7 separate regions of the Homo sapiens genome follow, and regions 1, 2, 3, 4, 6 and 7 are each linked to region 5. Evidence: promoter capture Hi-C in 16 types of primary human blood cells and fetal thymus (Javierre and others, 2016). All regions are on one chromosome and are shown on one strand. Each heading gives the region's core, a stretch centred on a gene start or on the middle of the fragment in contact. The rest is flanking DNA. Distances are from core to core; before and after follow the strand shown.

What was found. The method cuts DNA at HindIII sites, captures the fragments that hold promoters and counts their contacts. A CHiCAGO score of 5 or more calls a contact.
Region 1: a contact is called between a fragment that was not itself captured here and the fragment with the promoter of ANXA1 in region 5, in 1 of 17 cell types (monocytes). The highest score is 7.9, in monocytes.
Region 2: a fragment that was not itself captured here is called in contact with the fragment with the promoter of ANXA1 in region 5 in 4 of 17 cell types (non-activated CD4 T cells, activated CD4 T cells, total CD4 T cells and 1 more); the score reaches 8.2 in non-activated CD4 T cells.
Region 3: a contact is called between a fragment that was not itself captured here and the fragment with the promoter of ANXA1 in region 5, in 3 of 17 cell types (M2 macrophages, monocytes and non-activated CD4 T cells). The highest score is 6.5, in M2 macrophages.
Region 4: a contact is called between a fragment that was not itself captured here and the fragment with the promoter of ANXA1 in region 5, in 4 of 17 cell types (activated CD4 T cells, total CD4 T cells, non-activated CD4 T cells and 1 more). The highest score is 11.0, in activated CD4 T cells.
Region 6: a fragment that was not itself captured here is called in contact with the fragment with the promoter of ANXA1 in region 5 in 1 of 17 cell types (total CD4 T cells); the score reaches 6.9 in total CD4 T cells.
Region 7: a fragment that was not itself captured here is called in contact with the fragment with the promoter of ANXA1 in region 5 in 2 of 17 cell types (monocytes and naive CD8 T cells); the score reaches 5.4 in monocytes.

Annotation. Positions count from the first base shown.
Region 1 is chr9:71,744,250-71,747,335 of GRCh38, forward strand. CEMIP2 (cell migration inducing hyaluronidase 2) reads right to left here. Exons shown (of 24, transcript NM_013390.3): 3 at 1,952-2,092; 4 at 769-1,330. Among named protein-coding and RNA genes, the nearest start is that of CEMIP2, 23 kb to the right of the region's middle. RefSeq lists an enhancer at 1-449. The HindIII fragment of the contact is 3,308 bases long and covers 1-3,055 here.
Region 2 is chr9:75,092,074-75,095,303 of GRCh38, forward strand. The region is part of intron 1 of OSTF1 (osteoclast stimulating factor 1); the gene reads left to right. Among named protein-coding and RNA genes, the nearest start is that of OSTF1, 5.2 kb to the left of the region's middle. The HindIII fragment of the contact is 1,544 bases long and covers 479-2,022 here.
Region 3 is chr9:71,688,175-71,691,434 of GRCh38, forward strand. It overlaps CEMIP2 (cell migration inducing hyaluronidase 2), which reads right to left. Exons shown (of 24, transcript NM_013390.3): 22 at 1,918-2,072. Among named protein-coding and RNA genes, the nearest start is that of CEMIP2, 79 kb to the right of the region's middle. RefSeq lists an enhancer at 1,801-3,000. The HindIII fragment of the contact is 756 bases long and covers 1,150-1,905 here.
Region 4 is chr9:75,145,445-75,148,416 of GRCh38, forward strand. OSTF1 (osteoclast stimulating factor 1) reads left to right here. Exons shown (of 10, transcript NM_012383.5): 10 at 1,239-1,821. The coding sequence ends at 1,297. Among named protein-coding and RNA genes, the nearest start is that of OSTF1, 58 kb to the left of the region's middle. The HindIII fragment of the contact is 1,004 bases long and covers 800-1,803 here.
Region 5 is chr9:73,150,397-73,153,349 of GRCh38, forward strand. It overlaps ANXA1 (annexin A1), which reads left to right and starts at 1,469. Exons shown (of 13, transcript NM_000700.3): 1 at 1,469-1,528. The HindIII fragment of the contact is 9,458 bases long and covers 1-2,953 here.
Region 6 is chr9:75,032,774-75,036,115 of GRCh38, forward strand. No RefSeq gene overlaps it. Among named protein-coding and RNA genes, the nearest start is that of CARNMT1, 6.2 kb to the left of the region's middle. The HindIII fragment of the contact is 6,453 bases long and covers 1-3,342 here.
Region 7 is chr9:74,954,172-74,957,355 of GRCh38, forward strand. The region is part of intron 1 of CARNMT1-AS1 (CARNMT1 antisense RNA 1); the gene reads left to right. Among named protein-coding and RNA genes, the nearest start is that of CARNMT1-AS1, 2.8 kb to the left of the region's middle. The HindIII fragment of the contact is 4,014 bases long and covers 1-3,184 here.

The DNA.
Region 1 (3,086 bases), core at 152-2,651, 1.4 Mb before region 5:
TTGTAGTCTCAGCTACTTGGGAGGCTGAGGTGGAAGTATCACTGGAGCCTGGGAGGTTGAGGCTGCAGTGAGATACGATTGTACCACTGCACTCCAGCTCGGGCAACGGGGCAAGACCCTGTCACTAAAAATAAAAATAAAAGGAATAGGGTACAAGAACCATAAATAGCAGAAATGAATTCTACTATCTGGATGAATTTCCTAGCCCTTTAACTTTTTCCTTCCTCATATATGCCAGGGGTCCATAGACCTGTGCCAATCAAACATGCAGATTCCAATCAGCCTGCAAAGGAGTCCGAAAAAAGAAAAAGAAAAAGAAAAACTGCATATTCTACCCCCTCAGCCTTTTAAGACAGGTTTAGAACTTAGCATGAAATTCTGCCCTAACCTTTAAACTCATTAAGTTGCCTCAATTAGCCTGAGTTTCATATGATCTTCAGAAGGTAACGAAAGGAAGAAGTATCTTCAGAGGCAAATTGTCCTTAAACTGCCTGACTGTTTTTCAGTACCACACTTCTGCTCTCAACTTTTCACAAGTCTGGCACTCCAGTTCACAAAGGGCTTTGTAAACCAAAGCCAATGAAAATAGCTTTTGTATGTGGTGTCCTATCCTCCAGCCCCATGTCTCAAAGCTACCAGACATGCAAATGGTAGAGTGGCCCTTCTGATGCCTGAGTCATGCTGTGGCTGTGGCTCCTTTCCCCACCCTCACTCTCCTCTCACACAGACACGGACTCTGATAGGGATCTGGGAAGAAGGTATGCCTACCTGTAGCCCAGTCCTTGGATCAGTTCACTTCCCAACCGTTCCTGGATCATCTGGATGGTTCCTTGTAAGAGACTTTTAGCGGCTGAATCCCCGACAGCTATGGCAACAATCCGACCTGGATCCTGGAATCTCAGAAACTCCTGAAGCCGCCTGCTCTCATTGCGGTATTCATGGGTATCAAATCTCTCACTTTCCAAAATTTTGGCCGTGTCTTGGTCAATGACCCTCACATTGAGGCCCCGGGAAAAGTCCTTTTCAAAGGTATAGGACCCAAAGGGCAAGCCTGAGGAATTCAGGGTCCTTGCCAACAACGTCCACGATGCCTTCCGTGCCCCATGTAACTCCAGTGTCCCGCCAGCTTCCACACCAATAAACTTTTTGCCAAATGTTGGCATACTTTCACCTTCATCTGACTTGCCATACAAGGTAATTGTCGCTTTGGATTTATAGCGGCATTTTTCTGCTCCAATATGAAGCGCCCCACCATCCTGGATCAGGATGTAATGAGTCCTCAAAGTAATATTTCTGGATCCATCTTTATTGTCCCCAAATACAAGCAGTCCTGCAGGGAACACCACCCTGTAAGCCAACTTCTAAATCATCTTTCTGAGATACAAGGAAATAGATTTCACCTTAAGTTAAATACACTTCCGCAATTAGGTCGGAAAAAAGAATTCGCTAAGAATCTGCTTAGAAAACTAAAGGGAAAAATGAAGAGTTCATATCTTAATATACTCTCAATGCCCATGACTGTGAATTTCAACCTACTCACTTTAGAGGTTAAATCATTTCTCTTAAAAATATCTAAGAGTCTACAAATCTGAATCTTATTTTTGTATATGTTTACTCATGTTAACTCTCAGAATTGTGACAAAATCACTCTCAGAATTGTGACAAAAATTTAGCTCTGAGAGATCACCTCTCTGGAACTGTTTCCTTGTCTATAAATCAGGGGTCTTGATTTGAGTGATACCTAAGGTCTAAGCTCTTAAATTCTATGTTTTTTATCTCTGGATAAATTCTCTGGTTTTATCTCATGATCTTTCCAAATCTCCATGGTTAGAGTGACACCACAAACTAAAGCCTATTCTGCCTAAAAATAGTCTTCTACATAAGGAACATCAAATATCCCCCACATTAAAGAGCAACCTTGCAGTTCCCATAGGCAGGAACCATTACCTACCTCCATCCTGAATGACTATAGAATGCACGGTGGCGTCTGAGGTCAGACGGAGCATATCTCCCTCCTTGATAACAACTTGCTTTGCAGAATCTTGTCCTGGATCCCAATTCCTGAGACGAGGATTTTGATCTGGGCAATTTTCTATAAACACATTGATATTCCATCCAACCCATTAAAATGCAGGAATAATATAGCCGAATCTAAGCACTACCATTATTTACTGCAGATCTGCAAAAAATGTGCTAACATATGTTGATTTCCTGCCATTAGAATGGAAATCCCACGCCTTCCCACCAGCAGAGAACCATCTTACCCTTTAATTTGTCATCACATTTCCATTTTAAAGTTTTACCACAAAACTAAATTGCTAGCATCTAGTTCAGGACAAACTTCACCAAAAAAAAAAAAAAAAAAAAAAAGTTTCCCTGAATCATCTACTCTGGAAATAAACCAATAGTAAGAGGCAAAATTATACATTCTCTTGGGATTCACACTAGAAAGCTGTTTTAGAAAAGAAATGTGTTCACAACATCCTGGTAAATCAAAAATGAAAATTGCTAAATAATACATTGATCAGGTCTTCACAAGTTCCTTCTTGCACACAGTGAATGATGAAGTAAGTACTGATAGCACCTCTCTCCAAGACTGAGAAACATCACTATCTTCAGCCATGTGCACTCTCCCAACAAAATGAAAGAGGCAAGTGGCTAAAGACATAACTTCTCATTTTCAGAGATGAGGAAATTACAGGTTAGAGAAACCAAAGATTACTTAGCAAGCTGAGTGATACGCAAGTTTCCCCTTTTAGAAAATGAGATTATTGACTTGTAGTGTTCCTTTACTGGAATTAGAACTTGCCTCTTGAATAGGTATTATAATAACAAAAATATAACAGTATTTAATTAAAATAGCCATAGCTATTTAATGTATGAAAACTTTAAGGTCCGCCATAATTTTGAAGAGGGGAGAAAAAAAATCACGCCTTCAATTTTGATCAACCTATGGCCAAGTATTTGTGGAGCATCAATTTATCCACTCTGTACCAGATATTTTAAAATTTATAAAGCATAGAATCAGCTCACATTTCCTCAGAGTTTATATGCAAGCTTTGGAGGGAAAAAACACCAAGTATGAA
Region 2 (3,230 bases), core at 1-2,500, 1.9 Mb after region 5:
CAGTAGACAATACTAAAAGGAAAGGAGCTAGGTGAGTAAGGACAAAGGACTTGCTGGAAGATATTAAAAACAAGGGACATTAAGCTATAATGCAGGCTAATAGCATCTTTCTGGCTGATCAGCACATCCCCAACAGGGGGCCGATTTGTGGAAGGAGGCTGCCCAGGGAAGTCCCGGGCAGATGCTAGTGGGAGACCCTGGCCATTTTTGTACCATCTGGAGGATAGATCAGGGTTACCTTGTTTGGGTTTTTGGCCATATCCAGAATTCATTTGCTAAACAAATGTTTCTTAATAAATGTAGCTCATATATTAGGCCCTGTGCTAGACACTGGGGTTCCCAGGAACAATAATCTATGGTGTCATTCACGAGGGTCCTGAGTCTAATGGGGAAGACGTATGTATCTACAGATATTACCTAGAGTATCCCATATTTACAAGTGGATGGCTGATCTCATTCATTTTGTTTTTTTTAAAAAAGCTTGTAAGTAAAAATATAATTTTTTTATTTTTAGAAAATTTAGAAAAAGGTAAACAATAAATATATAACTAAAATATAGGAATCATCCCTGTCATCTACTGATAATCACTATTTACATTTGGTTGAATATTCTTTCAGGTTTCTTTCTTCTTCACATCCATTTCATTTCAAAAAAGAAAATAAAAACAATTACCCTCAGAACAGCGTCTCAGCTTCCGTTTGAAAAGTCTTGCTGTTGGTTGGCATATGTTTCCAAAAGGCTATACGGTATTGCCTGCATTCTGCTTGAAAAATCAATTCTGTCGCAGTTTGACCTTTCCTTGCTTACTGATTTTGTTTCTGTAGAATCACTTTTGGCCACACAAGGTCTGTCATTGAAACTTTCTCCCTTAACTGTTATCTGTGCCACCATGGTACTCTACTAAGATGTGTTGCAATTTCGTGGTCTTCAGCTCATTCTTTATGATACCCTCTTTCTTTCTTTCTTTCTCTCTCTCTCTTTCTTTCTTTCTTTTTTTTTTTTTGGAGATGGGATTTTGCTATGTTGACCAGGCTGGTCTTGCTCTCCTGTGCTCAAGCAGTCTTCTTCCTTCCTGAGCTTCCAGAGTATCTGGAATTATAGATGCTCACCACCAAACCTGGCTGAGACCCTCCTTTCCTTTTTCTGAATGAGTACAACCTCTTAGTTTTACACATATAGCATTTATGTTGTTTTCAGCCACTCTCAGAAGCCTTGCAGTTCAATTAGCGTGAATCTGTCTGGCTTGTTAGAGTGTAGAAGTGTAGAAAACAGAACTTTTGTTCTTGTAAAATCTTTTTAAAAATATTTTATTCTGAGAGTAAGAATGGGCCAAAGGATACTGAATGAGATTTGGGCTGTAGAATCATCTCATTCTAAGCAGGTTTGGTAACTATCTATTGTAGTTGGAAACCTGGTGTCTGACCTTGGCCATTTTTTCCAAATGGCTTATTGATTTTGGTGGTGAAAGTAAAGCATAAATATTTCATGTGCCTTGTGAAAATAAATTCATGGAACTTTGAAGAAGCAAATGTCAGTGTTTCAGGTTTTTTTGTTATTCAGAGTAAAAACATCATAAAACTTAAAAGACATCACACGCATGCTGCTTAAATAACATTTTTGAGAAAAAAAGGTTTTTATCTAAAATGAACTTAATTTTTATGTATTTTTTACCCCAACAAAGGAATTAATCAAAAGTGAGGTGAAATATGCACGTGAATAGTCTTCTTTTATAAACTTGATACTTTTTATACCTGTTGGCAGAATAAAGCCTGAGAAACATCTTGAAAATTTCACAATGATGATGATGATGGGAATGGTTAACATATATTTGGCCCCATATGTCAGGCACTGCACCCAGCACTGTGTATGCTCTGTCTCCTTTAATTATTCTGACTTTCCTATCAGGTGGGTGGGTCCTCATATCCCTGTTTTATGGATGAAGTAGTACTTAATGAGGTCAAGTAAACTATCTAAGATCTCAAAGCTAGTGAGTGGTTGGTGTGACCTGGAAGTGGAACAGAAGCTTTAATTGAGTCCATGCATATGAGCAGAGAAACCTGCCAGAGATGTTATTGGGTTGGACCTGCTTTTGTTGGACAGTCATTTTATTAGCTTATGCAGTTGTATTATTGGTATTTGGTTTGTGTAACTGCCCTCTTTCAATGGATCCGTATTAGAGCATTAAACTATGCACTTTTTGAGAGTGGAACAGTCTTTTATTTCTTTGTAACTGCACAGCCACTAAATCGTTATGAATGACAGATAATGTAAAACGCTTTGATACAAAAAAAAGGTGGGTTTTTTTTTTTTTCCCTGAAAGAAGGTGGGGGTGGACTCAGAGACTGTGATTGGGCTTTTCTTGTAGCTTTACTACAAAGTAGCAAAGGCTGGAGGTTATGTGCTTCTGATAAGCATTCCTCCCTTCTGGAAATACTGGGGTCCCCTCCCTTGGCGTTTCAGCATTCCCACAATTTGACTTACGTGACTAGTGCAGTGAGATTTTCTAATACACACCTTATACCTCAGGGCATAACAGAACCCATTGCCAAAGTTGTCCTCACTTGCTTAATGGACAGGGAAAGACTACATTAAAAAAAAAATGATACAGGGACACCTTTCAGTGGGCTGATATGAGTGAGGTGTCAAGATTCTCTTATCAAATTAAAGGAGTTTCAGAAAAATGTACAGGCCAGGCACAGTGGTTCACACCTGTAATCCTGGCACTTTGGGAGGCCCAGGCAGGCAGATTGCTTGAGCCTAGGAGTTTGAGACCAGCCTGGGCAACATGGTGAAACCTTTTCTGTACAACAAATATGAAAAAATTAGCTGGGCTTGGTGGTGCGTGTTTGTAGTCCCTGCTACTTAGGAGACTGAGGTGGGAGGATCACTTGAGCCTGGGAGGCCAAGATCGTGCCACTGCACTCCAGCCTGGGTGACAGAGCGAGACCCTGTCTCAAATAAACAAACAAACAATACAACACAAATATTAGAACCAGGAGAACTTCCTGGTTCTTTTAAATAACTACATAGTATTCTGCTGAGCTCATTTAACCAGACCCTAATTAACGTACTTCTGGATTGTTTTCAATCTTTTGTTATAACAAATAGTCTCCCAATAGTATTGTTGTTGCTTACACACGTAAATCCATAGGATAAAGTCCTGGCAGTGGGATTTGTTGTTTCAGAGGGTAAGTGCACTGCTGTTTTCATAGAAATTTCCAAATCGCTT
Region 3 (3,260 bases), core at 278-2,777, 1.5 Mb before region 5:
AAACAAAAATTTTCAAGAACAAATCAGTGTTTAGGGGGCTCTGAGTAGCTCTTATTAATTAAAAGGTAACATTAGATTGATTTATTTTCAGAGTCATCAAGGATACCTACAGGAAGTTGAAATTTGTGTGGTATGTCTTAATGTGGGTCTCGATGGTTCTTAAGATTAAGTACCTTAAGTTTCATGCTGGTATGGGTTCTTTATGGTAGTCTTTCTTTCTTTCTTTTTTTTTTAGAGACAGAGTCGCGCTCTGTTGCTCAGGCTGGAGTTCAGTGGTACAATCTTGGCTCACTGCAAACTGCCTCCTAGGTTCAAGCAGTTCTCCTGCCTCAGCCTCCCGAGTAGCTGGGATTATAGGTGCCACCAACATGCCGGCTAGTTTTTTGTATTTTTAGTAGAGATGAGGTTTCACCATGTTGGCCAGGCTGGTCTCGAACTCCTGACCTCAGGTGATCCTCCTGCCTCAGACTCCCAAAGTGCTAGGATTACAGGTGTGAGCCACCGTGCCTGGCCTACTGTAGTCTTTCTAAAGCAGTGGTGACACAATCTAAAATTAGTGCAGCAGTCTAAGCACGGCTACCCTGCAGACCTGACCTTCTTCAATAGGTCAGAATTACCCATAAGATCATTTACAGGTCACCCCGCAACCCTATACACATAGACACGTGCTCAGTCTCCCTAGAAGTCACTGCCAGTTGCTCCATACCTTCTTAACACTTTGTTAAAATGTTACACACACACTGAATTTTTGCAAACGAAACCTATCTGCATAACCAGAGGCAGATCAAGAAACAGCATTACCAGTATCTTAAAAGCCTTTCTGTTAATGAGTTGGTTTTACCTCTTAAATCTATGGGGTACCTTGCAGGACTACCATGTTGTCCTAAATACTTGTGGTGAGATTTATGTCCTGGATTGTTTTAGGGGAAGTGAGTGCATGTATTTTCAACATTAGGAAAAATCTTTAAATCCTGCAAGAAAATTGAGGCTGTACAAGTGTCTTAAGCCAGAAGACAGAACGACATATATACATTTAATGTTACATCCAAATAATCCAGTGACTTCATAGAATTTATTGGCATCCGGTTCTATAAAGCATAAGCTATTGGAAAATGATTCTAAAGCTAGATAGGCCTTTAATTTGGGGAAAGCTTAAGTTCCTTCCTTAATGGTTCCATTAAATGAAAGCGGGTGTATAAATCAACATCTGCGGCAAAGGCAGAAAACACCCTGAGTTCATCTCCTTGCCTCCAGGCAGGGTCTCACCAACCCAGAAAAAGAAAGGTTTCTCTCCTGTGCAGCTTTCTTCAGAGACATCAAAGAAAACCAATCAGACTAGTGCTCTGTAAGAGCGATTGCACACTCAGCCACTTCAAAAATCAATTTACTCTTTTCCAGTCATTTCCAAGTGACCCAGGTGATGACTTCCTGTATCACAATCATAGTGCAATGCTGTCCAAGACCGTCAGTGCGACAGAGGGTTGCAAAGGTAAACTGCCTGGAAAATCACTTCAAAATAGTAATAAGCCTTCTGAGGGAGTTGTGGACAAAGTATATCAACTTAATACTAAAAAGTATAATGCTCTGATATTTGTTTTACGAAACTCAAAAAATAAATAAAATAAAAAGTGGGATAGTAATGTTCCAAATAATGAGCTCTTTTCCTCTGAAGAGCCTTCCCACCATTTTGCAAAATGTTGCAACATCCAAGTTCTGCCACAGGTAAGCAATGGCTTGTCAATGATAAGCAGCTTAGACGACATGGGCGTCAATCTGAGGTAGGAGAGGAATGAACACCTTGCATAGTGCCCTGAATGTCCAGAGAGTAAAAAATCGGACTTGACCAGGCATTATCAGTTTGGAGCACTCCACATCTTTAAGGTGGCTTTTCCCTGTTACAGCACAAGCTTGACCTACCTTGGAGGGATGCCTGTTTTTAAATACTCTTCAATGCGACTGACATCAGCAAGAGGAAAAACCGTTTTTTCCGTCAAGCGGAATGGAACGCTGCACGGATCCACAACAAGGAGGAGGACGCCTGCACTTCGGAAGGTAAAGTCAGTGCCATTGACCTGAGAATGCAAAAACATCTTCTGCTGTCATCATCATTTTGAGAACATCTGCAGGATGACTCATTTTTCCGGCCCTTTCCCTGTGTCTTCTAAACCCATGATTCAAAGTATATTTCCAAGATTCAAATTGTGTGCTTCACTTGCTTTTTCCTCACCATCTGAAATTGCGTCTGTGTTCCTAGGCACTGCCTATAGATTCTGCCTTGACTGATGTTTGCTGACTGGAGAACCTGCTTTGAGCAAGGCATGGTGGCCCCCACTCAGCTAAGCTGGGTGACTTCACTCTGAAGTGTTCAAGGTATTCCTTCTTACACACACTCTCACTGGGGTCAAAGCTTTATAAGTCAATGATAGATGGCTGCCTCTGTACTTCAGAGTAGATGGCTTATTGTCATATTGGTTCAGAAAAGAATACACACACACACATATAAATATGTATCATGCCTTGATCCACAGGAATTCCACGTTAGTTTATATTTGTAGTTTGCTACAAATAATAGCTCTCCTCTGAGATCAAAATGACAAAGTGATAATTTTACCGGAATTTAAGCTACAAAGTACTACTACATTTATTTCACAACTATTGTGAGCTAAATTTTCAAAGTCATCCTCTTTAAATCAGTGGTTTGTGACCTTTTCAAGAAAAAGGAACTCCAGATATTTCCAAATATCATTAATTTCTCAGCCAAAAATGAAGGAGCAAAACAAAACAACTAAGCACTAATTAAACCCATAGGCACTGTTCCTGTTTATAAGGTGTAAAATTATAAAGTATGCTAAAGGCTAACAAAGGAGAAATGTTCTTACCACTACACCTGTCCATGCCTGGGGAAATTATAATATTTAAATTTTACTTCTAATCACTTTTGATCTCACTGGTATTCAAAATGGCACTTTAAGGCCAGGTGTGGTGGCTTACGCCTGTAATCCAATCCCAGCACTTTGGGAGGTTGAGGTGGGTGAATCACCTGAGGTTAGGAGTTCATCCTGACCAACAAGGTGAAACTCCATCTCTACTTAGAGATACACCGGGCGTGGTGGTGCATGCCTGTGATCCCAGCTACTTGGGAGTGAGGCAGGAGAATCATTTGAACCCAGGAGGTGGAGGCTGCAGTGAGCGGAGATGGTGCCACTGCATTCCAGCCTGGGTGACAGAGTGAGACTCTGTCTCAGGAAAAAAAAAATAAA
Region 4 (2,972 bases), core at 52-2,551, 2.0 Mb after region 5:
CTGTGATGTGACATCCATTGATGATCGTTGCCTAGATCTGTTACTTCACTAAACGGCACAAAATGATGATATTCTAATTAAATCACTTCTTTTTGAGTTATTAGCTGGAACATTCTATTAGGAAAAGTTTTCCCTCATCAATTGTTTTGTTACGCAGAGGAACAGTTAATGTAGCAAGGGCAGGATAAATGCTTGATTTTTGACCTTTATTTAAGAGGTTTTAAAATAATAAGCTGGTCTCTGTCATCCTCCAAAGGGTGACAGATGAGTTCTTTTTGGTGTGCCTTGAAATATTTAATGTGCTTTAATCCATTCCAATTAGTAGCTTTATCAATAGCCCATCTTTGGCTAGTGGAGGCCTCTTTAAGTTGAATCTCAGACCCTTTCACGTGATGCTGTCTTTGTTAGGATGCTTGCTTTATGACATGACTAGGGTTCTAGGTCCATCCCTTACACTTCCTGCCCCATACTTGGAACCGGTCATATGTATAATAAGCTTCAGAGATGTGATACTTAGAGATCATGAAGATCTGGGTGCTGTGACATATATTTATTGAACTTCAACAATGTGCTTGTGTTTGCATTCTGTTTTTCCCACTAAAATTATACTTGGGCTAATCTGTTGCTATAGGAATTTGACTAGACAGTTGAAGGGGTGACTGTGAAAGATCAGATGTCTTCCTTTTGAGTCCTGTTCAAGTTTGCTTGAACATTTGATGGGGTCCAGCTCTATTTTAAAACTTTTCCCCCCCATTTCAGCCTTTTGCTTTATTGTCGGTGTTTTCTACATTGAAATGGAAGCTTCTTTGTTTTCATTCTTTCTTTTCCTTTTTCCCCTTCGGTAGTTAACGTCCTACCTAGTGACTTTGCCTTTAGGCAAGACCTCAGGCTGTCACTGGGAGAGGAGGTTGGAAGCTCAGTTGTCAGAGTGGAGTGCTGCTGGTGGTGTATCATGTTGGTCATGGTGCCTGTGGCTAGGCCTTTCTGTTGGAAATGGATGCATGGCACCTAGGACCAAAACTTCTGCATGACTGTGGAACGCATCATCAGCCTCTGTGGCAACAGAAACTTAATGGTTAGGCTGAAAAGCAAAAGCAGAGAAAGATCCTCAGGGAAAGTACAATCCCTGGGTCAGATGGAAGATTCTATTCTAATTTAAGAGCTTTGAAAATGAAAAAATAAAATCTGAGCAGTTTATAATTTCCCTATTTTGCTTTTTTCCCTCCTCTTTCTTTCAGATGCAGTTCGAACATTAAGCAATGCCGAGGACTATCTCGATGATGAAGACTCAGATTAATTCCTTTCTGGAGCTTTGAGATCTAAAACTTCTGTTGCTTTTGCCATTCCAAAACTTTGTCTTTGCCAGAAAAGTGTTGGTAACTATAAAGAAAATTATATATGAACACGGCAGTGTTGCACTGTGTTTGAGTAGAACGTGTAAATGAATTGTTCCCACCTTTGGTTTGCCAGTAAGTGACTGGATTCTTGGCACATTTATGTTCACCAAAGTAGAACAAGAAGATATTATTTCTATTTATCAAGCAAAAGGAATTTTAAGATTTTTTTTTTTCTTTAAAAACAAATTAGGATTTTTTTTTTTTTTTTTTTTTTAGTTAAAATGCTTTACCTCAATGGTTGAGATATTTTGAATGGATTTTTCAAGGGGGGGAAATGCTTATTATAATAATAAACCAAAATACTTAACAGAAAATTGTCAGCTATTCTGACAAAAATAAACATTTTGAGAGACTTTATTTCTTTTGTCCGTTTCTGTGGTATCACTCATTGTCGTTAAGTAAGTAAAGCTTTTTATATTTAGGTAAGAACTGATTTTATTTTTTAAATTATATTTTATATTTATTAGCACAGAAGAATAATGAGAGCCACATTTTAGTTCAACTTCTTGTGTTAGCTTTGATCAAAGTCAGGACAATAATCATTGAGAAGGTGCATGTCTAATAAAATAGGTAAATTTAATAATTGTGAGACTTCCAGTTTTTATCTCCAAGGTTGTATTTAGAGTGGAGAAACCCAACAACTCATTACAGTTTCGCTAAGATTTGAAAGGTTAAAAAAATTTATTTCCTTATGATAGATGCCATACTTTTCCATATGGAGTAGTCAGGAACCATGAAATTTTTTGCATTCAGTTTTTTTAATAACATTTGTTTTCTCACAGTATGGATCTAGTTCATAATGATTCAGATTCTTTTGCTGAAACACAATTAGCATTGCAGGGAGCCTTCTGTACTACTGACATGACACTTCATTTGGCGTTCTAATTTTGTATCACTACAGTGATGATGTAAAAATGACATGGCCATTGGAATTTGCCTAGAATCCCGGCCCTAGGTCCAAAAGTATATTTTGCAAGATGATTTCAATGCTAATTTCAAAAAACACGTTGATGAAGAGAAGGAAATGTATGAAGAAGGAAGTGGGTTAGCTCAGGAAATGAATAACTGCCTCTATAAGAGTTTATTCTGTGACTGTTTGGTTTTTCACTCTGTGGGAGCCTTGAGAAACGATACCCAGAGAAGCCCATTTGAGGTCTTTCAAACACCCTCAACTAAATTTTAGTAGAAGAGAATCTGTACCACTAGTGACAACAAAGTATGAACACAAATTCTGGCACCAACAAAAGAGGGCATTTTATTCTTAAAATAAATACGTTATTAAATTTGATTTAACCAGTTGTATTTCTTCTTAAACATAAACTTGAAGATATGAAATTCTTCCTGAAATTGTATCTATTCCTATAGATCCTTTAAGATTTTTCTTTAAAATGGGGCTTGTTTCTTAACAAAAAGCTTTTAGAGAACCCTGTAACTTTTTGTTCTTCTATACTTTGGGCTGGGGTAATTAGGATGGATTTCAACTAAAGACTCTTAATTTTTAAAACATGGGCAGAAATAATACAGCTTGTGTGGCTATAGACAATTTTTATCAAAATACCATGTACTTGCTTTAGA
Region 5 (2,953 bases), core at 219-2,718:
AAAAACATATATTGACATTTTCTTAAATATTTAGATTAGATGATCATCCTACTTCAGGATATGTTGACTTCATTGATATTGGCATCGAGCACTTAGAATGTATTATAAAATACTGCCAATCTTTAGAAAGTATTTTCATTAACTTCCTAAACTTCATGTTTTTTATGTGAAATATCTATGAGGAAAAGAGGAAAAAGAACAAACCACTAAATGCAGCATAAATTGAGCCATAATGCTGTGAGATTTTACACCTGTGCACTTTAATGGAAACATCATATAATACTTTGTAGGGTTTAAAGAAGAATGAAAATGAACCACTATGGAAGTTACCAGAACCAATTTTCCTCCATTGGGTGGGAAATTTCTTATGGAATGTGTTCTGTAATAGTTGCTGCTCCATTAATCCTTTCATTTTATAGGTCTAGTTCCTTGTTTTGGTGTTCAACTAGTCTACAATGTCAAAGATGTGTATCAAAATGTATATATAACTGATCTATATTACAGTTTATATATATAGTTCTATGTAACTGACTCTATTTAAAAGAATTAATGTAGATAGGCCTTCTGATGTCAATGCTTTTATTGAATGTCATAATGATCAAATTTTTGGCATTACCTTTGTTCAAAATTTTGAGCCAATCTGGAACTTTATTACTTCTATATTTCTTATTTATAACAACAAGCTATATCTAGGAACAAAAGTCGTTTATTTTTTAAGGCAAGAAAAATATAAATAGAAAATTATTCGGCACTGTGTAATGTTAAAATTTACAAATATATGTTATTTCTCCATTGTCACAAGAATTCTAGTGGGTAGACAACTTAGATAATGCTCCTATATACAAAAGTAAAAACAGCTAGGCATGGTGGCTCACGCCTGTGATTCCAACTCTTAGGGAGACAGAGGCAGGAGGATAGCCTGAGCCCAGGAGTTTGAGACCTGCCTGGGCAATATAACGAGACCCCATTCTCCACAAAAAGCGGGGGAAAAAGACAACAAAACAAAAGTAAAAACAGGTTCAGAAAAATTAAGTATGTCCCTAAAGTCACAGAATAATAAGTGATGGAGGTGGAATTCAAATGTAATATTTTGTTTGTTGGTTTGTTTAGTTTTGAAGGTAACATACTTTTTAGTCTACAACCTATTTAACTACAAAAGTGTGCCAATCACTGGTATTAGGATTGGGGCAGATGTATACTCTGAAAATAAAAGTGCAAAATAAATATCCCATCTGGAAATAAAAGTGCAAAATAAAGAGGGAGGAAAAATCAGCCCTTCCATTTCTTTTCCTTTGTAATGCCAGTTGAATTGGTTTAGTGAGTAGTTTTGCAAGACTTGTTTCACTTTGTTTTTGGACATAGCTGAGCCATGTACTTCAAACAGAAGGCAGCCAATTACTAACTTCTGGTTGCTAGGTGTGGCTTCCTTTAAAATCCTATAAAATCAGAAGCCCAAGTCTCCACTGCCAGTGTGAAATCTTCAGAGAAGAATTTCTCTTTAGTTCTTTGCAAGAAGGTAGAGATAAAGGTAAGTCTTGGTTTTCCTTTTAGTTAGTTTTGGTTGTTTTGAAAACTTTTCTCATCACTATGTTAAATGTTACTGCTTCTACAGGATTTATGGTTAGTTGCATTTAACATGATAAGTCATTCATAAATCTTTCTGTAGAATTACATTGGATATTTATATTTTAGGAATCACAAATTACAATATTTTTGTTCTACTTAGTTAACAAATACAAGTAAAAATAAGATAAGTTTGCTTAATACTGGCTCATTGTACTCTTGGTAAGTTACCATGAGAAAGAAGGGAAGAATGTGCTTTCCCTCTGGTAGCCTTAAAAGAATGTGTTTTTCCTTTCCTTCCCCTTGAAATATTTCTTCCCAAGAGCTGTGTGTTTTACAGAGAAATCGTGATGGGGGCTGCTTTTTGGGGGCAAGAACAAAAGTGATAGGAGTGGGCTGCAGGGAACTGTTTCAAAATAGTAGGACTTTCATAATTTATTTTCTTCTTTTGTAAGGAAAACAAGATAGATTCAGACCTCAAAGTGCTAATCATGCTCTTTGTAATAAACATTTAAAAATATATGTTATATTTGCTTATGCTATTTAAAATAAGAAGGTCCGCTTATTACTTTTTTCATTTAAAGAGGGTGTGGCCACATTCCTTTTCTTGTAGGCTCTGTGTCATATACAGTCTTTTCAAGTGCTGGCTGGAAAACCTAAAAAGAAGGGAAATACTTTCTGGGTAGTGTCAGATACATTATCCTAGGGGAATGTCAGTGAGGCCCTCCAACAGCTATTCCACTTGATTGTTGCATGAGCTAATGGCCATAAAACTCCTTAGAAAAGCACAAAGCAAAACTAAAGAAGAGTATTTACTAGTGTTGGATATATTTGTAAAAGTGAGATTACAAATCATGTATCTGGCTATTTTTTTCTTAAACATGTTCCTTCAAGAATTTTTCTGTTCGTTCATTTTAAATATTTATTAAATGTTCTGATTTCTTATGTTCACTGCTAGCTAATTAACAAGGATGGAATTTTTCTTGCCTTGGTTATATCTAAAAGATTGTAAAAACTTTGAGAAAGCAATGTTGCCCTCTTTCCACAGGAGTATTTTGGTAGCTGTAAGAGAATGCACATTGCAAATGACTCAAATGTGGTAAAATGTTGGTTTCATAATTCTGAAATGGCCTCTTCCCCAAAAGTGACAGTAACACCCTAGCTCCAGGCTCAACCACATCCAGCACATAGCCAACATTTAACAGATGTTGACAAAATAGTTAATAATAATATTATTAAGGAACCAGCCAGAGTTTCATGCTTATTAAATACTTTTTCAACCAGAAGGTCTGCAAAGGTTGATTTCTGAATATGACGTTAGCTCTCTCTAGACCTATTAATTTACGACATTTCAAATCAGAGGTAAACCAGCAGACCTATTATTTTTCAA
Region 6 (3,342 bases), core at 329-2,828, 1.9 Mb after region 5:
CAGTGGTGTGACAGTGGCCCAGTGCAGTCTTGAGCTCCTGGTTCAAGCGATGTTCCTGCCTCAGCCTCTGTGAGTAGCTGGGACTACAGATGTGCACCACCACACCTGGCTGATTTTTTTTTTCTTTTGTGAGACGGGCCCTTGCTTGGTTGCCCAGGCTTGTTTTGAACTCCTGGCTTCAAGTAATACGATTACATTTATGTAGCATTTTCAAAATGACAAAATTATAGGGATGGAGAACAGATGATTAGTCGCTTGGGGTTGGCGGTGGTGGGGAGTAAGGGCGGTGTCTATGTTTATGAAAGGGTAGCTCAAGGGAAACTTGTAGTAGAACTGTCCTGTATGTTGACTATAGCAGTGGTCACACAAATCTACACACGAGATACAATTGCATAAAAATTAGGGCGTTTCTCTCAGCCTACTTTGGCTCAGGAGACCGCCCCACAAAATATAAAATAAAATTTAAAAATTAATATACACACCAACCCACACGCAAATGAATACCACTCACAAATTCATCCATCTGGTGAATTTCAGATAAGGTCCATTAATTATATCAATGTTAACTCACCAAACTCCATGCTCTATTGTCTGAACCAGGAAGACTCAACTTGTTTTCCCAGTCATACCAACGAAGTTACTCCCTCATTATTTTCAAGGATGTTTCATAATCAATAAATGTTTGTAAATAAGGGCTTTGAAATGTGCAAGTCTTCTCATCTATTAATCCTAAGTATATATACATATTTTTAAACATTAACGTTTAGCAGCTACTAAATATATTTTTATTAGCCTCACATTTCCCAGCTAAATGCCTCATTGAAAGTTTGTAATATATATTATGTTGGTTTTAACTGACCTTTTAACTGCCTTGCCTAGTAGACTGTATGTCTGAGGGCAGAAGGCATATCTGTTTTGTTCATGCCTGTATCCCCAGCATCTAACAAAGTGAGATTTTTCTATAACCACTTTTTGAAATGAATAAATGAATTTACAAGTGCCAGACACTGCACTAAACCCTGTAATATATCATTACATATAACTTAATACAATAGTATCATCTTTTTTGTTTTTTGTTTGTTTTTAAACAAGGACTTGCTGTGTTGCCCAGGTTGGAATAGCTGGGACCCCCCCGACACACACTTTTTAAAAAACCAGTGAGCACACTATAATTAAGTACCTTGCTCAAAGTCATACAGCTGTTAATAAGTAAAGCCTCAATTTGAAAGCAAGCCCAGGAAATGATTAACCACTGGATCTACTGCCTCTGCTGAAGTTTGTCTTGTCTATCTTTAAATAAGTTTCATGAAGTTGTTTTACTTTTGGAAATCTTATTAATTTGTAAATAATTGTTTGCAGTGATTTAGCATTTTAGTTGGGTAAGAAAATATATATTTTGCTGACCAAAACTGAAAGACTAGATTGCCCACAGAGTATGTTTATAGAGAAAATAAACAATTTCTTATGCTTTATGTTAAAAATCTGGTTTATATATCAACAATGACTCAAACTACTGTTGAGCTAAAACCTCAAGGAAAAAGGCAAAGGCAAGTAGGGGCTTTTTTCACTTAATACAAGGGCTCCCTTATAATTCTCATCGTCATTCTAGGATTTATTATTTTTACTCTTGGGATTCCTCTATTAATTCTGTTCTTTATGCAAAACCTTTGCATAGAGTTCTAAGTCTTTGACTTAGATCTAGCTAGTTTTGTCTTTGTATTCTTTGTTCTAGTCCCTGGATCCACATGAAGGATATTATAATTTGCTCTTAAAATAATAAGAATGCTCTCCACTATGGAGCTAGGGATATGATTCCTGTAAATGGTCACTTTGTGCCTTTGGTGAGTTTTTTTATTTAAATATTTTGTACGATAATTAAATTGTTTTTTGTCTTATTACTCCTGGTAACTCACAGAACACCTTTAGTGAATTTTTATATTCTTTCTTAATCACAGGAACCAGAACCCAGTTGCAGTGTTTGTATGCACATAGTTTTAATGCTCTCAATGGTTATTCTCAAACTTGGAATGAAAATTCTATTATTGTTGTTAATTTTTGAGGGGGTGGTTAAAAAGTGAAGTGAAATGGATTTTGTGTAACTGATTAGTGCTAAGTTAGTTTACAGAAAAACATCACAGGGTATGTACTGCTAGGAATAAGTCTCTCTTTCTAGGGATCCTATAATGGTCCCTACAAAGATATCTTCCCATCCCATAACCTTTAAATCTTTTTGTTGCTGTTGGGGAACATTTCAAGTTAAAAGAATACACTGAACTGACGTTATTCAATGCTTTCTCATGCATGCTTAGGGTATTAGCCAAACAACTGCACCCAAATAAAACATTTTGGGAAGATATGTATGTATGTATGTATATATGTATATATGTATTTATGTATGTATTTGAGACCAGGTCTTGCTCTGTTGCCCAGCCTGGAGTGCAGTGGCATGAATATGGCTCATTGCAGCCTTTACCTCCTGGGTTCAAGCCATCCTCCAGCCTCAGCCTCCCAAGTAGCTGGGACCACAGGCATGCAACATGATGCCCTGCTAATTGTATTTATTTTTTGTAGAGGCAAGGTCTCACTATGTTGCCCAGGCTGGTCTCCAATTCCTGGACTCAAGTGATCCTCCCATCTTAGCCTCCCAAAATGCTGAGATTAAAGGTGTGAGCCACTGTGCTTGGCTGAATTATGTATTTATTACTTCCCCAAGAAGCATCAAAATAGTAATCATGGGGGGAAATATCAGAATTTGGTTGGACTTCCTCATATTTATCTTACAGATTATTTTTGTTATTTTAAGTTACTTTTAGTGGCAAAGATGGGAGTACCACAGGATGTTCAGAGCAAAAGATTTGTGTTTTGTCTGAGACCCTCACACAAGTAAGAAAGATACTTTCTACTTCCACCTTCACTGCAAAGCCAGTCTCCAAGATCTTGGCCTGTTTTTATCATCTGGCCCTGATGTTTTCTGAAATTATTAATAAAGGGTAAGATTGGGCTATCGTATTTGAATTAGCAGAATCACTCTAACACCCTATCGTGACTCCTGTCTCTCCATTTAAAATCCTTTCAGTCTCTGGAAGGTTCCCCTCTACCCAACGCTTAATGGGTGATACCTGCAGTCCACATTTGCTACTCAAAAGTATGGACCAGCTCATTTATATCTCCTGGGATACTGTTAGGAATGCAGTATCTCAGACCTCACCTACTGAATCTGAATCTGCATTTAAACAAGATCCCCAAGTGATTCACAGGCATGTTAAAGTTTTGAAAAGCACTGCTCCAGAAACAAAACAGAACATATACATCTCAATCCTTTTACTGATAGATTAAACCCTC
Region 7 (3,184 bases), core at 87-2,586, 1.8 Mb after region 5:
CAGTGCTTTGAAGGGAAAAACTATCATCCTCTGTAGAAAAAGTGTGCAAGAAAGATAATTCTATTTTAGTGCTAGGTACTATCTCAGTACTAATTTACCCTGTACCCCTGCATCTCAAGGTGGTTGTGAGAGGACAAGTTAATTATTAGTTATTAACAAGCACAGAAATGTACCAAGTTAGGGTAGTAAGCAATAGCTTTTCTGTTTGGTTTTTACTTTTCTTGTTTGAAATTGGTAACCGGCCGGGTGCGGTGGCTCACGTCTTTAATCCCAGCACTTTTGGGAAGATGAGGTGCACAGATCACCTGAGCCCAGGAGTTCCATACCAGCCTGGCCAACATGGTGAAACCCCATCTCTACAGAAAATACAAAAATTAGCCAGAGGTGGTGCCTTGCACCTGTAGTCCCAGGGAGGCTGAGGTGGGAGGATCGCTTGAACCCTGGAGGCAGAGGCCAAGATTGCACCACTGTACTTCCAGCCTGGGTGACAGTGTGAGACCCTGTCTCCAAAAAAAAAAAAATAAATTGAAAACCCGTCTGTCTCAAACAGAGGAAGAGTTTTGCCATTTTTAAATCAGCAGGAAAGATCTTAATCGTAGTCATCAAGTGCTGTTTGAAAGGTTTTGAGTACCCCCAAAATAATAAGTTTAGCTAATGGTTGGTTCTTTTGTGTTCCTCTTTACAAACGCTCATTTTTTCAAAATTGTGAAACTTATCATATATGCAAAAGGTTGTATAAAATACACATGTAGTTAAAAGAATGATAGTAAGACATACAGCATTCTGTTTCAGAAATAGAATACTACCTATACTAGAACATGACAAGCTCCCTATGCGTCCCTTCCCCACTGGCACATACCCTTCCCTTTCCCTCACTCCCGGTAATTACCGTTTTACATGTTGAGTTAATCATTCCTTTGCTTTTTAACTCTTCCATTTGTATGTCTGTATGTATATTGCTAAATAACTTTTTTTTTTTTTTTTTTGAAACGGGGCTTGCTCTGTTGCCCTGGCTGGAGAGCAGTGATATGATTACAGCTCACTGCAGCCCTGACCTCTCAGGGGCAAGCAGTCCTCCCACCTCAGCCTCCTGAGTAGCTGAGACTACAGGTGTACATCACCACACCCAGCTAATTTTTAAAATTTTTTTGTAGAGCCAGGGTTTTGCCACGTTGCCCAGACTTGTCTCAAAGTCCTGAACTCAAACAATCTGCCTGCCCTGGCCTCCCAAAGTGTTGGGATTACAGGCATGAGCCACCACACCCAGCTTAATATATTTTCTGAGACCAGGTCTTGCTCTGTTGCCCAGGCTGGAATGTAGTGGCGTGATCACTGCTCACTGCAGCTTCAACTTCCTGGCCTCAAGCAATCCTCCTGCCTCAGCCTCCCAAGTAGCTGGGCCCATGGCTTGTGCCACCACACCCAGCTAATTTTTTATTTTTAGTAGCAACAAGGTCTCACTATGTTGCCCAGGCTTGTTTTGCCGGGCTTTTTTTTGTTTTTGTTTTTAAAACAGCTTTACCTAGGTCTAAATGACACACAATAATGTGCATATAAAGTGTACAATTTGACATTCATACACCTGTGAAACCATAACCACCATCAAGATGATCAAAGTTTTGAGAGCAGTCTTTGACATCTTGTTCTTTAGGAGTGTGTCAACTATACTTGGCCCTTTGTTCTTCCATAATAGCATCCTCTGTAACATTTAGTTACCCTTTTGGAATTTTGGTTATAATTGCATTGAGATTATAGATCAATTTGGGAAGAATTATTATCTTTACAATACCAAGCTCATTTCCTGTTCAAGAATATAACTATTTAAGTTTTTAAAAATCTTTCAATAAAGTTTTATATTTCTCAACATAAAGAGCTTATATCTTTGTTAAGTTTATCCCTAGGCACTTTATAATTTTTGTAGACAATATTCTTTTTCTTTTTAAATAACATTTTCTGAGTTTTTGTTGCTGCTCTGGGTTCTTTTTTTTTTAAGGCCCCAGAAGTAGAATTTGAAATTAGTTTACCCTAAGTTGTAAGTAGTACCAGATCCACTTGTTCAAGGAATTTGTCCATTTCATTCATCACATTTGTTGGAATATTTTCTTAGTTTCTCTTTTTCCCATTTCATTGGCTTCTACTAAATTTGGATTTACTTTGCTCTTCTTTCTCTAGCTTCTTCTAATAGAACCTAGGTCACTGATTGTAGTCTTTGTTAGTTTCTTTTTGGAGACAGAGTCACTCTGGCTGGAGTGAAGTGGCACGATCTTGGCTCACTGCAGCCTCTGCCTCCCAGGTTCAAGCGATTCTCCTGCCTCAGCCTCCCGAGTAGCTGGGACTACAGGTGCATGCCACCGCACCTGGCTAATTTTTGCATTTTTAGTAGAGGTGGGGTTTCACCATGCTAGCCAGCTTGGTCTCAAACTCCTGACTTCAGGTGATCCACCCACCTCGGCCTCCCAAAGTGCTGGGATTACAGGCGTGAGCCACCGTGCCCAGCCGTCTTTGTTAGTTTCTAAAATAAACACTTAAAGCTGTAACTTTCCCTGTAGCACTGCTTGGGCTACATCCTACAAATTTTGGTATGTTGTATTTTTATTATCTTTCAGTTTGAAATACTTTCAAAATTTCCTTTCTTGTTACTCTACCTCCTTCCTATCGTTATGAATTTCATTTTAAGTTAACCTATTGGTATTTACTTAGCTATACCTCTTTGAATTAATAATGTGGTTGCCATAAGGACTGTTCATATACATCTTTATTTTTTCACAGTCTAGTTCGAGCTAACATTGTACCACTTTATGTAAAACATAAATACCTTGCACCCCTCCCCCTGCCCTATCTAAATGCATTTTTTATTGATGTAATAGGATCTTCTACCTATTCTACATATCCCATAATTTTGTGGATAATAACTCAGAAGTCATTAGTTACAACAAAACAACAAAGAAGGGAAACTTTTTTTCTTCTTACTGAAAAAGGAATACACACAAACTTATTCTGCTTATCTTTAAACTTGTGTGTTTCAGACTAACTGAAGCCTCACAGCAGTGTAGGGTGGGGAAGTAGTTTAAAATTTTTTAATTGCCAGAACTTTTACATATCTCATTTGATCCCAAAAACTTTGGGGCAGATTATTGCCAGTTTAACAGATAAACCTCTCCTCTGAGCATCAGATCCATGTGAC